Linked DNA regions of Homo sapiens: regions 1, 2 and 4 are each linked to region 3. The links are contacts of gene promoters, found by promoter capture Hi-C in blood cells and fetal thymus (Javierre and others, 2016). All regions are on one chromosome and are shown on one strand. The core of a region is centred on a gene start or on the middle of the fragment in contact, and the rest is flanking DNA. Distances in the headings are between cores, read along the strand shown.

The links. Contacts are between HindIII fragments. The CHiCAGO score rates a contact against its expected background, and 5 or more counts as called.
Region 1: a fragment that was not itself captured here is called in contact with the fragment with the promoter of LRRC52-AS1 in region 3 in 8 of 17 cell types (total CD4 T cells, total CD8 T cells, naive CD8 T cells and 5 more); the score reaches 10.8 in total CD4 T cells.
Region 2: a contact is called between a fragment that was not itself captured here and the fragment with the promoter of LRRC52-AS1 in region 3, in 1 of 17 cell types (total CD4 T cells). The highest score is 6.1, in total CD4 T cells.
Region 4: a contact is called between a fragment that was not itself captured here and the fragment with the promoter of LRRC52-AS1 in region 3, in 1 of 17 cell types (total CD4 T cells). The highest score is 5.5, in total CD4 T cells.

Annotation. Positions count from the first base shown.
Region 1 is chr1:165,922,864-165,925,563 of GRCh38, forward strand. No RefSeq gene overlaps it. Among named protein-coding and RNA genes, the nearest start is that of MIR3658, 16 kb to the left of the region's middle. The HindIII fragment of the contact is 2,669 bases long and covers 1-2,600 here.
Region 2 is chr1:165,875,126-165,877,825 of GRCh38, forward strand. All of the region lies in intron 1 of UCK2 (uridine-cytidine kinase 2), which reads left to right. Among named protein-coding and RNA genes, the nearest start is that of MIR3658, 31 kb to the right of the region's middle. The HindIII fragment of the contact is 2,649 bases long and covers 1-2,578 here.
Region 3 is chr1:165,580,836-165,583,535 of GRCh38, forward strand. It overlaps LRRC52-AS1 (LRRC52 antisense RNA 1), which reads right to left and starts at 1,320. Exons shown (of 7, transcript NR_026744.2): 1 at 520-1,320. It also overlaps the pseudogene RPS2P10. The HindIII fragment of the contact is 5,029 bases long and covers 1-2,700 here.
Region 4 is chr1:165,941,317-165,944,016 of GRCh38, forward strand. It overlaps the pseudogene LOC100420658. Among named protein-coding and RNA genes, the nearest start is that of MIR3658, 35 kb to the left of the region's middle. The HindIII fragment of the contact is 5,185 bases long and covers 1-2,700 here.

The DNA.
Region 1 (2,700 bases), core at 16-2,515, 340 kb after region 3:
TTTATATTCTTGACATTAGTTACGATTACTGTTTTATCCTGTCAGTGCTCATTTAGATTTTCCCAGATTATTACTAATGACTTTGTTCACTATTTTATTTTGCATTGTCAATCTTGGTTATGGATTCAGTTTTCTTCATAACACACATTTTTTTCATAATTATTTGTCAGAATTATTAGTGGGACACTCTTTGTTGGAAAATGCCTTTTTTTACCCTCATTCTTGAGTTATAATTTAGCTGTTTCTCTCAACATTTTGGATAGATTGGTCTTCTGTTTTCTGTCTTTTAAAAAGATTTCTCTTTGATGTTTTGCAATTTCTTATGATGTGTTGAAATGTGGATTTATTTTTATTTACCCTACTTAGGGCATGTGCTTCCTGAAGGCGAGTTCTATGTGTTTCATCTATTCTAGAAAATTTATAGCTATTATCTTTTCTAATGTTGCCTTCTCACTTTTCTCTCTGTTTTCTATCTTTTGATCTGTGGTTCCATGTACATAGGACCTTTTGCTCTTTCTTCTAAGTCTCTTACTCTCTTATTTTATTTTTAATCTGTTTTTTGTTTGTTTGTTTGTTTGAGACAGGGTCTCACTCTATAGCCCAGGCTGAAATGCAGTAGAGTGATCATGGCTTGCTGCAGCCTCAACCTCCTGGGCTCAAGTGATCCTCCCACCTCAGCCTCCTAAGTAGCTGGGACCACAGGCGTGAGCCGCCATGACCGGTTAATTTTTGTATTTTTTGTAGAGATGGGGTTTCACTATGTTGCCCAGGCTGGTCTCGAACTCCTGGACTCAAGCGATTTACCCATCTTGTCCTCCCAAAGTGATGGGATTATTGATATGTACCACTGTGCCCTGCCTTATTTTTAATCTTTTTATCTCTCAAGCTACATTGTAGCTAAGCTCCTTAGATCATTTCCAATTTAGTTACTCGCTCTTCACCCATGTTTAGTTTGCTGTTTAAAACTTACCAAGTTTTTAATTTCAGTGACCATATTTTTGGCTTTTAGAAAAACCATTTCATTATAGTCCAAATCTGCTTGTTGATTTTTGATTGTGTTTTATACTAATGTTTTAAATTGCTATTCTTGGCCCTTGTCTAATGTCATTTTCTTATATGCTCAGCTATGCATTAAGCAGGACTTCATTATTATTATCTTTTTTGTATTTTATGTGGAACTTGTAGGTATTTTGTAGCAGGAAGGTTTTCTGGTTATCTGAACCATGATAATGAAAAAAAAAAAAGTGTCTCATTGGTTTTTTCAAACTTTCTCCTCCAGAGAAATTCTGCTTTGTTCACAGCATCAAATGTTGCTTGGAGTTCTAAAACTTCCATTGTTCTTTGTATGTGAAGCATGCTGGGATGCCTGGGCGGTGGAGTGTTACTTCACATTAAATTGTGGGCTCCTTTACGGTCAGCAACTGTGTTTCCTGTATCTCATGTGTCCTGGCAGGGTACTTGCCACGTAGTCAGTGCCTGATAAACAGTTGGCTGATTTCCTTATTTGACTTTTGCTTTAGAGCCAGACGCCTCGCTAGCAGAGATGCACACGTTTTTTTGTTTTGTTTTTTTTTTTTTTTGAGATGCAGTCTCGCTCTGCCGCCAGGCTGGAGTGCAGTGGTGCAATCTCGGCTCGCTGCAAGCTCCGCCTCCCGGGTTCAAGCGATTCTCGTGCCTCAGCCTCCCGAGTAGCTGGGATTACAGGCGCGCACCACCACGCCCAGCTAATTTTTGTATTTTTAGTTGAGACGGGGTTTCACCATGTTCGCCAGGATGGTCTCGATCTCTTGACCTCGTGATCCACTCGCCTCGGCCTCCCAAAGTGCTGGGATTACAGGCGTGAGCCGCCGCGCCCGGCCCGAGATGCACATGTATTTTTAAAGAGTTCCATTGATAACTGAGTTTCTCCTGACCAGAAGGTGGACTGTGGCCTAGGCATGGCAGTGCCTCCTGATTGGCTTTGGAAGCTCAGCTCCATCTGTGGTCCGTTATTCTTAAAAGTGGCCACTAGAGGGTGAGAATGAGCCACAGCACAGCAAAGTCCTGTTTTAACCTTCAGAACAGCTGGAGGACGGTCAATTCAAACACACTAGAGAGCACCTATCATGTGCCAGGTACTGTGCCAAGCCCTCCCTGCCTTCCAGGACCTCATAAATGGCCAGTGGCCCCTCACATATAGACACAACTCTTGTACAAGGCAGAATGGAATGTGCACAAAGAGGTACAATCCCAACTCCTAGATCTAGGGGGTCTCAACAAGGAGGAACTGTGGGTGGCTTTCCTGTAGAACTCAGATTGGTCAGTCTGTGAGAAGGAAACTTACAGGACCTGCACCATCCACCCTCTCAGTCTCAGTCTCACCCACCTCTTCATACACCTGTTTCATGTGCATATGGCTTTACTGTTGCCTGCCAGAGACCACCCAGGCTTTGCAGTAGACTATTTGCATAACCCTGGACTAACCACTCTCTAATCTTTAATCTCTTTATTTAGGGATGATAATATCAAGTCCTTTCTACCTCATAGGATTGTGTCAGATTTAAGCAAAGTAATGAAGATCAAAGTACTTTTGAAAATTCATAAGTGCCATATATTTATGAAGCTTTAAAATAATTGTTAATATAAATTTCCCTAAAATGCCCTCAGAGTCTAGGAAGTTTGGGTGCACCATGGGCATTTACTGAATTAACTAGAATGTAC
Region 2 (2,700 bases), core at 4-2,503, 290 kb after region 3:
TTTTTATTGAACATATAGTTTGTGCTAGCCACTATCTTAGGCATGTAGCTTATTAACACTTATGGCCCATTTGTGGAACAGGTATGGTTACCTGCAGTTTAAAACAAGGATGCCAGTGTTCTAAGAGGTTGAGTTGCCCGAGATATCACTGGTATGTTAGAGTCAGGAATCAAGCCAGGTCCTGTGTGCCCTGCCCAGCCTGACTTTAAAGGACTATGTAGGGAAACTCTCTGAAACCACATTTTTCCTTTACTCTCACACCACAACAGTTAACACGGAAGACTTCTGTGACCGATTGTGGTGAGAGAGGGGGGATTTCCTCACACAGCAAGGCACAGACACCAGTTGAGTGTCCTCCAATTTACTTGCTACACTATTTACCTGGAGATAGTGTCAAATCCCACAGGTTGGAAACTCAAGTCTCTAAAACTGCCCCTGCCCCCTGCAGACATGCAAACCTGAGCCTCTGGAACTTCTGATTGATTGACTTCAAGTCGAGGTTCCCATAACCCCCTCTTAGGGTTTGATTAATTTGCTGGAGTGGCTCACAGAACTCAGGGAAACACTTATGTTTACTGGTTTATTATAAAGGATATTTTGCAAAGGACACAGATGAAGAGACGCACAGGGCAAGGCATGGGGAAAGAGGTGCGGAGTTTCCAACCCCTCCCTTGTGTGCCACCCTCCAGGAACCTCCAGGTGTTCAGCTATCCGGAAACTCCCTGTACCCAGCTTTCTTGGGTTTTTTGGAAACGTTCCTTCCTACAGTGCTTAGCCCTCTCAGGGGAGGGTTTGAGACCCACAATCTGAAAGGTGGGGAAAGATTAGATTCCTGCCTCGGGCCAGGTGAAAGGAAGGCAGGAAAGAGATTCTGTTTCCTGACCCAACATTATCACAAAAGACTGTAACAAGGGCTGTGGGAGTTATGGACCAGGAACCTGGTTGAAAACCATTATAAATCATAACACCACAAGGACCTATATTTTGCTTTTTAGGACATTGTAGTAGGTGGGTAGTTTTCATCCTCTTGCTTTTTAAAATCTATCTTGCCCAGAAGTTTATTGGGCATTTCTATGGAAACACAACACCTCTCTTAAATGGCAGTTTCACACATCTGCAGCCTAGTAATTGCTACTCATTTTGAAGACCCTGAAGCACACCACTGGATCTGGAAGTGACATCTTCGTCACCAAGGAAACAGTAGATTAAGTCCTGTGCTCAGTATAGTTTTACTTCTGAGTATTTAGTAAGTATGATAAATTATTAACCAGGATATTTGATTAGGTAGACATGCCTATATTCCAGATAGCAACAGTTTACCATTAGAGCAAACAGAAAACACCAGGAAAAATTCTGCAGGACAAGTTTGTAAAATGCAATGATACATCTTTATGACATATATCCTCTGTAAGGAGATAAAAACAATGTATGTACAGGAGTGTACATAAATAAAAGTTGAAGAAAGTACATCCTCTGTGATTTAAAAAAAGAAATTCAATATACCCATTAAAAAAGTGACAGGTGTATTAGTTTTCTATGGCTATAGTAACAAATTACTACAATCTTGATGACTTAAAATGACAGATTCATTCTCTTATAGTGCTGGAGGCTGTAAGACTGAAATTTAGGTGTGGGCAGTGTTGGCCTCTTCTGGAAGATCTGAAGGAGACCCATGCCTCCGTCCTGTCTCCCAGCTTCTGCTGCCATTTCTTGTATCACCCCAGTCTCTACTTTCACCTTTATATGGCTTTCCCTCATGTCTCCGTGTCTTCACCTTTTCTGTTTCTTAGAAGGACACATGTCATGGGGTTTAGGGCCCACCCTAATTCAGGATGATCTCATCTCAAGATATTTAACTTAATTACATGTGCAAAGACCTTTTTTCCAAATAAGGTCATATTTTGAGGTTGGGGGAGTTAGAATATGATCGTAGATTTTGGGGGGCAACAATGTAACTCACTTATAAATGGTCCACTGACCCCCCCAAAATTTGTCCTGTGTGCAGAATGCATTCATCTCATCCCAATTAATTATTAACACTGCTTTGTGAGGAAAAATTAAGAATTTTGAAAAGTGAGAAGCTATACCTCTGGGATAAATAAAAAGACAAATGGCAGAAGATGGATAGTCGCTAATCTTTTTTTTAGATAAACATTTTGTTTTGAGATAGTTGTAGGTTCACAAACACATAAGAAATAATACAGAGAGATCCCATATTACAAAAGACACCGGGATGTTGACGTTGATACAGTGAAGATACAGAACACTTCCATCGCTACTGCTGTTTTGCTGTTTATTACCTGCCCCGGATTTCCCGCCCCTCCACTGCTCCCTGTCCCTAACCGTGGTCCACCACTAATCGTTCCACAATTTTATACAAATATAACCATACTGTATGTAACCTTTTGGAATTGCCCTTTTTTACTCAGCACAATTCTCTGGAGATTCGTGCAGGTTGTTGTATCAGCAGTCATTCGTTTTTATTGCTGAGTAATAGTCCATTGTATGGATATACCGTAGTTTAACCATCGGCGTAATGAAGGCCATCTGGGTGGCTTCTAATTTTTGGCTCTAACAAAGCTTCTATGAACATTTGTGTATGTATTTTTGTGTGACTATGTTTTCATTTCTGTGGGATCAGTACAATTGCCTGATCATATGGTAGTTTAGTTGCATGTTTATTATCTTCTTTAATATGCT
Region 3 (2,700 bases), core at 70-2,569:
TGACTTTTGAGAGGGGACGTCTTACTCAGGCACAGTCACATGTGCCTGTAGCCCTAGCTACTTTGGAGGCCAAGGCAGGAGGATAGTTTGAGTCCAGGAGTTCAAGACTGCAGTGTGCTGTAACTGTGCCTATGAATAGCCACTGCTTAGGCAACACAGTGAAACCCCATCTCTAAAAGAAAAAAAAAAAAAGACCAGACATCTTAGAAAGATTCTTCAAATCCTAACCCTAGTTAGACATTAGACATTGAATGCCTCTCCTAGACTTGACTAATGGAGAAAAAATGCCTTTAAGTGTTTCATCTGTTTCATCTTACTCATTCCTCAGAACATTCTGCTGACATCAACAGCCTCCAGGCCTTTGCACATGCATGTCTTTCTTTATGAAATACACACACACATGCACACATGTCTCTACACCCTGCTTATTCTATAAATCCATATTCATCCTTCAACTTCTTGCTCAAGTATCACTTCTATTTTAAAATTTCCCAGACACCACAGCCTGCCCCAACTCACCCATTCTCACTGCAGTGACGGCTCCCAGAACCTGAACAAACCACAAGTCTGATCTTGCCGCACTGTGATGACTGATCTTCTGGTTTCTCCCCAACAACCATGGGTTCCCCAAAAAGCAATACTTTGTAACCCTAGCACTTGCTATCATGCCTAATGTCTAGCAAGTACGCACAATTTGTTGCGTTAATATATTCCACATGTAGCTTCTTCTCCGAGAAAACACCAAATGGCGGATGACGCCGGCGCAGCCGGCATTGGGTTGCGGGGGGAGTCCCGGAGGCCCCGGGGCCCTGGGATGGGGAACCATGGTGGCTTCCGTGGAGGTTTCGGCAGTGGCATCCGAGGCCGGGGTCACTGCCGTGGACCAGGCTGGGGCCGAAGCCACGGAGCTCGCGGAGGCAAGGCCAAGGATAAGGAGTGGATGCCCGTCAGCAAGCTGGGCTGCCTGGTCAAGCACATGAAGATCACTTCCCTGGAGGAGATCTGTCTCTTCTCCCTGCCCATCACGGAATCTGAGATCATTGATTTTTTCCTGGGGGGCCTCTCTCGAGGCCTAGGTTTTGAAGATTATGCCGGTGCAGAAGCAGACCGGAGCCGGCCAGCGAACCAGGTTCAAGGCGTTTGTGGCCATTGCGGGCTACAACGGTCACGTCGGTCTGGGTGTTAAGTGCTCCAAGGAGGTGGCCACTGCCATCCACAGGGCCATCATCCTGGCCTAGCTCTCCATTGTCCCCATGCGCAGAGGTTACTAGGGGAACAAGATCGGCAAGCCCTACACCATCCGTTGCAAGGTGACGGGCTGCTGCGGCTCCGTGCTCGTGCGCCTCATCCGCGTGCCCAGAGGCACCGGTATCGTCTCGGCGCCTGTGCCCAAGAAGTTGCTCATGATGGCTGGTATCGATGACTGCTACACCTCAGCCAGGGGCTGCACTGCCACTCTGAGCAACTTCGCCAAGGCCACCTTTGATGCCATCTCTAAGACCTACAGCTACCTGACCCCTGACCTCTGGAGGACGGCTGTATTCACCAAGTGTCCCTATCAAGAATTCACTGACCACCTCGCCAAGACCCACACCAGAGTCTCCGTGCAGAGGACCCAGGCTCCAGCTGTAGCTACAACATAGGGTTTTTATACAAGAAAAAGAAAGTTAATTAAGCCTGTAAAATATACATACATATATGTGTGTGTATATATACATATTATATATGTATATATGTGTGTGTATATACATTATATATATGTATATATGTGTGTATATATACATATATACGTATATATGTGTGTATATATACATATATACGTATATATGTGTGTATATATACATATATACGTATATGTGTCTATATACATATATACGTATATGTGTGTGTATACATATATACGTATGTATGTGTGTATACATATATACGTATGTGTGTGTATACATATATACGTATGTATGTGTGTATACATCTATACGTATGTATGTGTGTGTATACATCTATACGTATGTATGTGTGTATACATATATACGTGTATACGTATACACATATGTATATGTGTATACATATACACATATATGTGTATGTATGTGTATACATATACACATATATGTGTATGTATGTGTATACATATACACATATATGTGTATGTATGTGTATACATATACACATATATGTGTATGTATGTGTATACATATACACATATATGTGTATGTATGTGTATACATATACACATATATGTGTATGTATGTGTATACATATACACATATATGTGTATGTATGTGTATACATATACACATATATGTGTATGTATGTGTATATGTATGTATATATACACATATACATACATGCATGTATATATGTATGTATATGTATACATATATACATACATTGTATATACGTATACATATACACACATATATGTATATACGTATACATATACACACATATATGTATATACGTATACATATACACACATACATACATATATACACATACATACATATATACACATACATACATACATATATGTATATGTGTATATATACATATATGTGTATATATTCCAACTGTAAAATATACATATATGTGTGTATATATATATTCCACCTGTAATATATATATACATTCCACCTGTAAAATATAAAATTATGACACTGATTTTTAAAGTGTTATATAACTTACTCATACTGTTGTTTT
Region 4 (2,700 bases), core at 114-2,613, 360 kb after region 3:
GGACAGCATACTCCAGGCGGGCAAAGACGGTGCACACCCCAGCCTAGCAATACACATGCCCAAAGTAGACAGCCAGTGCTGAGAAGGCGATGTGCCGACCATGCAGAGCCGCTGTTCCAGCCTGGGACTTGCCTTCGTGTGCTTCTCGGTCAGCCGGAGAATGCGGCGAGGCGCATGCGACCAAGTAGCACAATGAAAGCATTTTCGGGACCATGAGGTCCTTGGAGGAGATTTGAGCGAGCAAGGGCCAGCACGAGCTCTCCACGCCGCCGAGGCCGAAGTTGAGGGGGCAGAGCGGGAGATGCCAGGAACACTGGGAGGTGCAGCTGGGTCAGTGGCTGCAGGAGGCTCAGGCCACCGAGCAGACATGTGGAAACGTCACGCGCAGCGCTGGGGCGCCTCCCTGCCCACGGCCCAGCTCCTCGAGGGCAGCAGATGGGCACCCAGGCAGTGGCAGCCAGGATGTAGGGGGAACCCGGGCCAGGCTGAGGGGCGGGAACGTCTAAGCATGAAACTTGCCACTTATTTAGCCTGTATTCCTTGACTCCGATAATCCCGCAGAACAAAGTCTTCATGATTCTTTCTTCTTAACAAAAACACCAGCTGATTTGCGTGCTGAGGTGGATTAGGGAAAATACCTGTGTAATTAATGGTAGCGCGGTCTTGGGAATCAGGCCTCCAGAGTTCCAGTTCTAGTTCTACCTTTAAGGAACCACATAACCTTGGGGAAGTGGCCCCCTTCCTCCGTCTGCATTTTCCTAGTGTGTATTACAGCAATTACTTTTGCAGCAACCTAATAAAATGAGAGTATTGGGCTAGATAGTCGTGAAGGGTCCTTTGAGCTCTTGAGCCTTCCTGTCTGTATGTTAAACCCACTTAGTGTTAAGGCCCCATTCTCAGGCCTGCTTACCGCCCTCTTATCCCTGTTGGAGGTGGGAGAGGACAAAGCTGTTTTTCAGACATCTTAAGTTAAGCCCAGGCTCTGTGCAGAGGATGAAGTTACTGATTACAGAGCAATTTGTTCAGGAGACACTGAAGATAATTAGTAAGAGAAGAGTCAGTGTGTCTTGAATGGAGTTCTTCTAATCCCTTAGGCATTGATCAGTCAATTCCATGAGCACTACACTAGCTGGTCAGGACTTCGACCTGGGGAACTAAATGCAAGAGCTTCACAGGCACTAAATAAGCACTTGCAAGAAGGCAAATTTAGTTTCACTTGGGGGATGCTTGATGCCCAAGAGAAATGACTGCCATGCCATTTAATTCTCTTCTCATTTAACATTCATTCAGGTGAACATTTTTGAATCCCTGGTACGTAGGAGATACTGTCAGTAGCAAAAGTGACTATGCCACCTTCCCTCCCCTCAGGAAACTTTTAACACAGTGGAAGAGACAGACTCGTCAAAACTGCAATACAAAGCAGAATGTAAAATGGAGTAAGCGAGGCACCCCCAAGGTGCTATGGGGGTTGAGAAGAAGGTGAGCCCTGAGTTGGTTGGGGTCGTCCTGACTCCAGAAGGATGGCTGGGTACATGGTCACCACAACAGGATGAGAGGACACTTGAGGTGGAGGGGATGGCATGAGCAAAATCGTAAAAGAGGGACAGTCTGGGGCAAAAGAGAAAGCGGATGGTGGTCGATTTGCCTAGATTACAGCACTCTACACACTACAAAATAGAATTAGAAAAATATACCAGGTTTAGCTTGTTTGAAACTTGAAAAGATGTTGGGCTTAATTTACTGGCAGTGAGGAGACACTCGGGGTTTCTTTTTGGCATAGGAATAGCATGATGTGCATTATGTATGTAGAGTTGCACATTAATAAAATATTAACAAATGAAAGGAATGCATTCCCATCTTGTTCTTCTGAGATGAAACCAAGAAGCTATACAAAAGGAAAAGAAGGATTGCAGCATTTCACACTCCCCATAGTTCTGTGAAAAGTAAGAGTTGGCAATGCCTAGCTCCATGCCACTGTTTCTGGATTCTCCAGTGATTCCCTGGGCTGGTGGAATCAGAGAGGTGTGACAAGAAGCTGTTTTCCCCAAATGACTCAGCTGCCAGGTGTTACATGCATCTGGCTCAGGAAAAACAACCACATGGAGATCTGTTTGTTACTCAGAGTTCCCTCTAGGTGGCCAGAAACATCCCCTAAAGTAGTTAAATGAAAGAAAAAGAGAAGGTCAGAAAAAGCATTCACAAATACTGAGTTGCTTAGCTGTGTATGTGGCTGTTTGAAAAGTTTCCTGGAAGTGTGTTCAGGGGGAGAAAAGCCTAATCCTTCAGGTCCCTATCTGCTGAGGGTCGGGTGAAGATTCTGGGAAGTTGGAGTAAGTAACATTCACACTGATTAAGATAAAAATAAGACAATGACAAAACCAAACATGTTTACTAATAAGTAGTCCTTGGTATTGTGGATGTGCTTATTGCAATTCCCTCTGTGTACTGCTTGTCATAAGATAAAAATGATGCAAGGACACAGAAAGACGGAAGAGGGGTATGCTTAGAATTAGGCAGGAGAGGCCGGTCGCAGTGGCTCACACCTGTAATCCCAGCACTTTGGGAGGCAGAGGAGGGTGGATCACGAGGTCAGGAGATCGAGACCATCCTGGCTAACACAGTGAAATCCCGTCTCTACTGAAAAAACAAAAACAAAAACAAAAAATTAGCCGGGCGTGATGGCAGGTGCCTGTAGTCCCA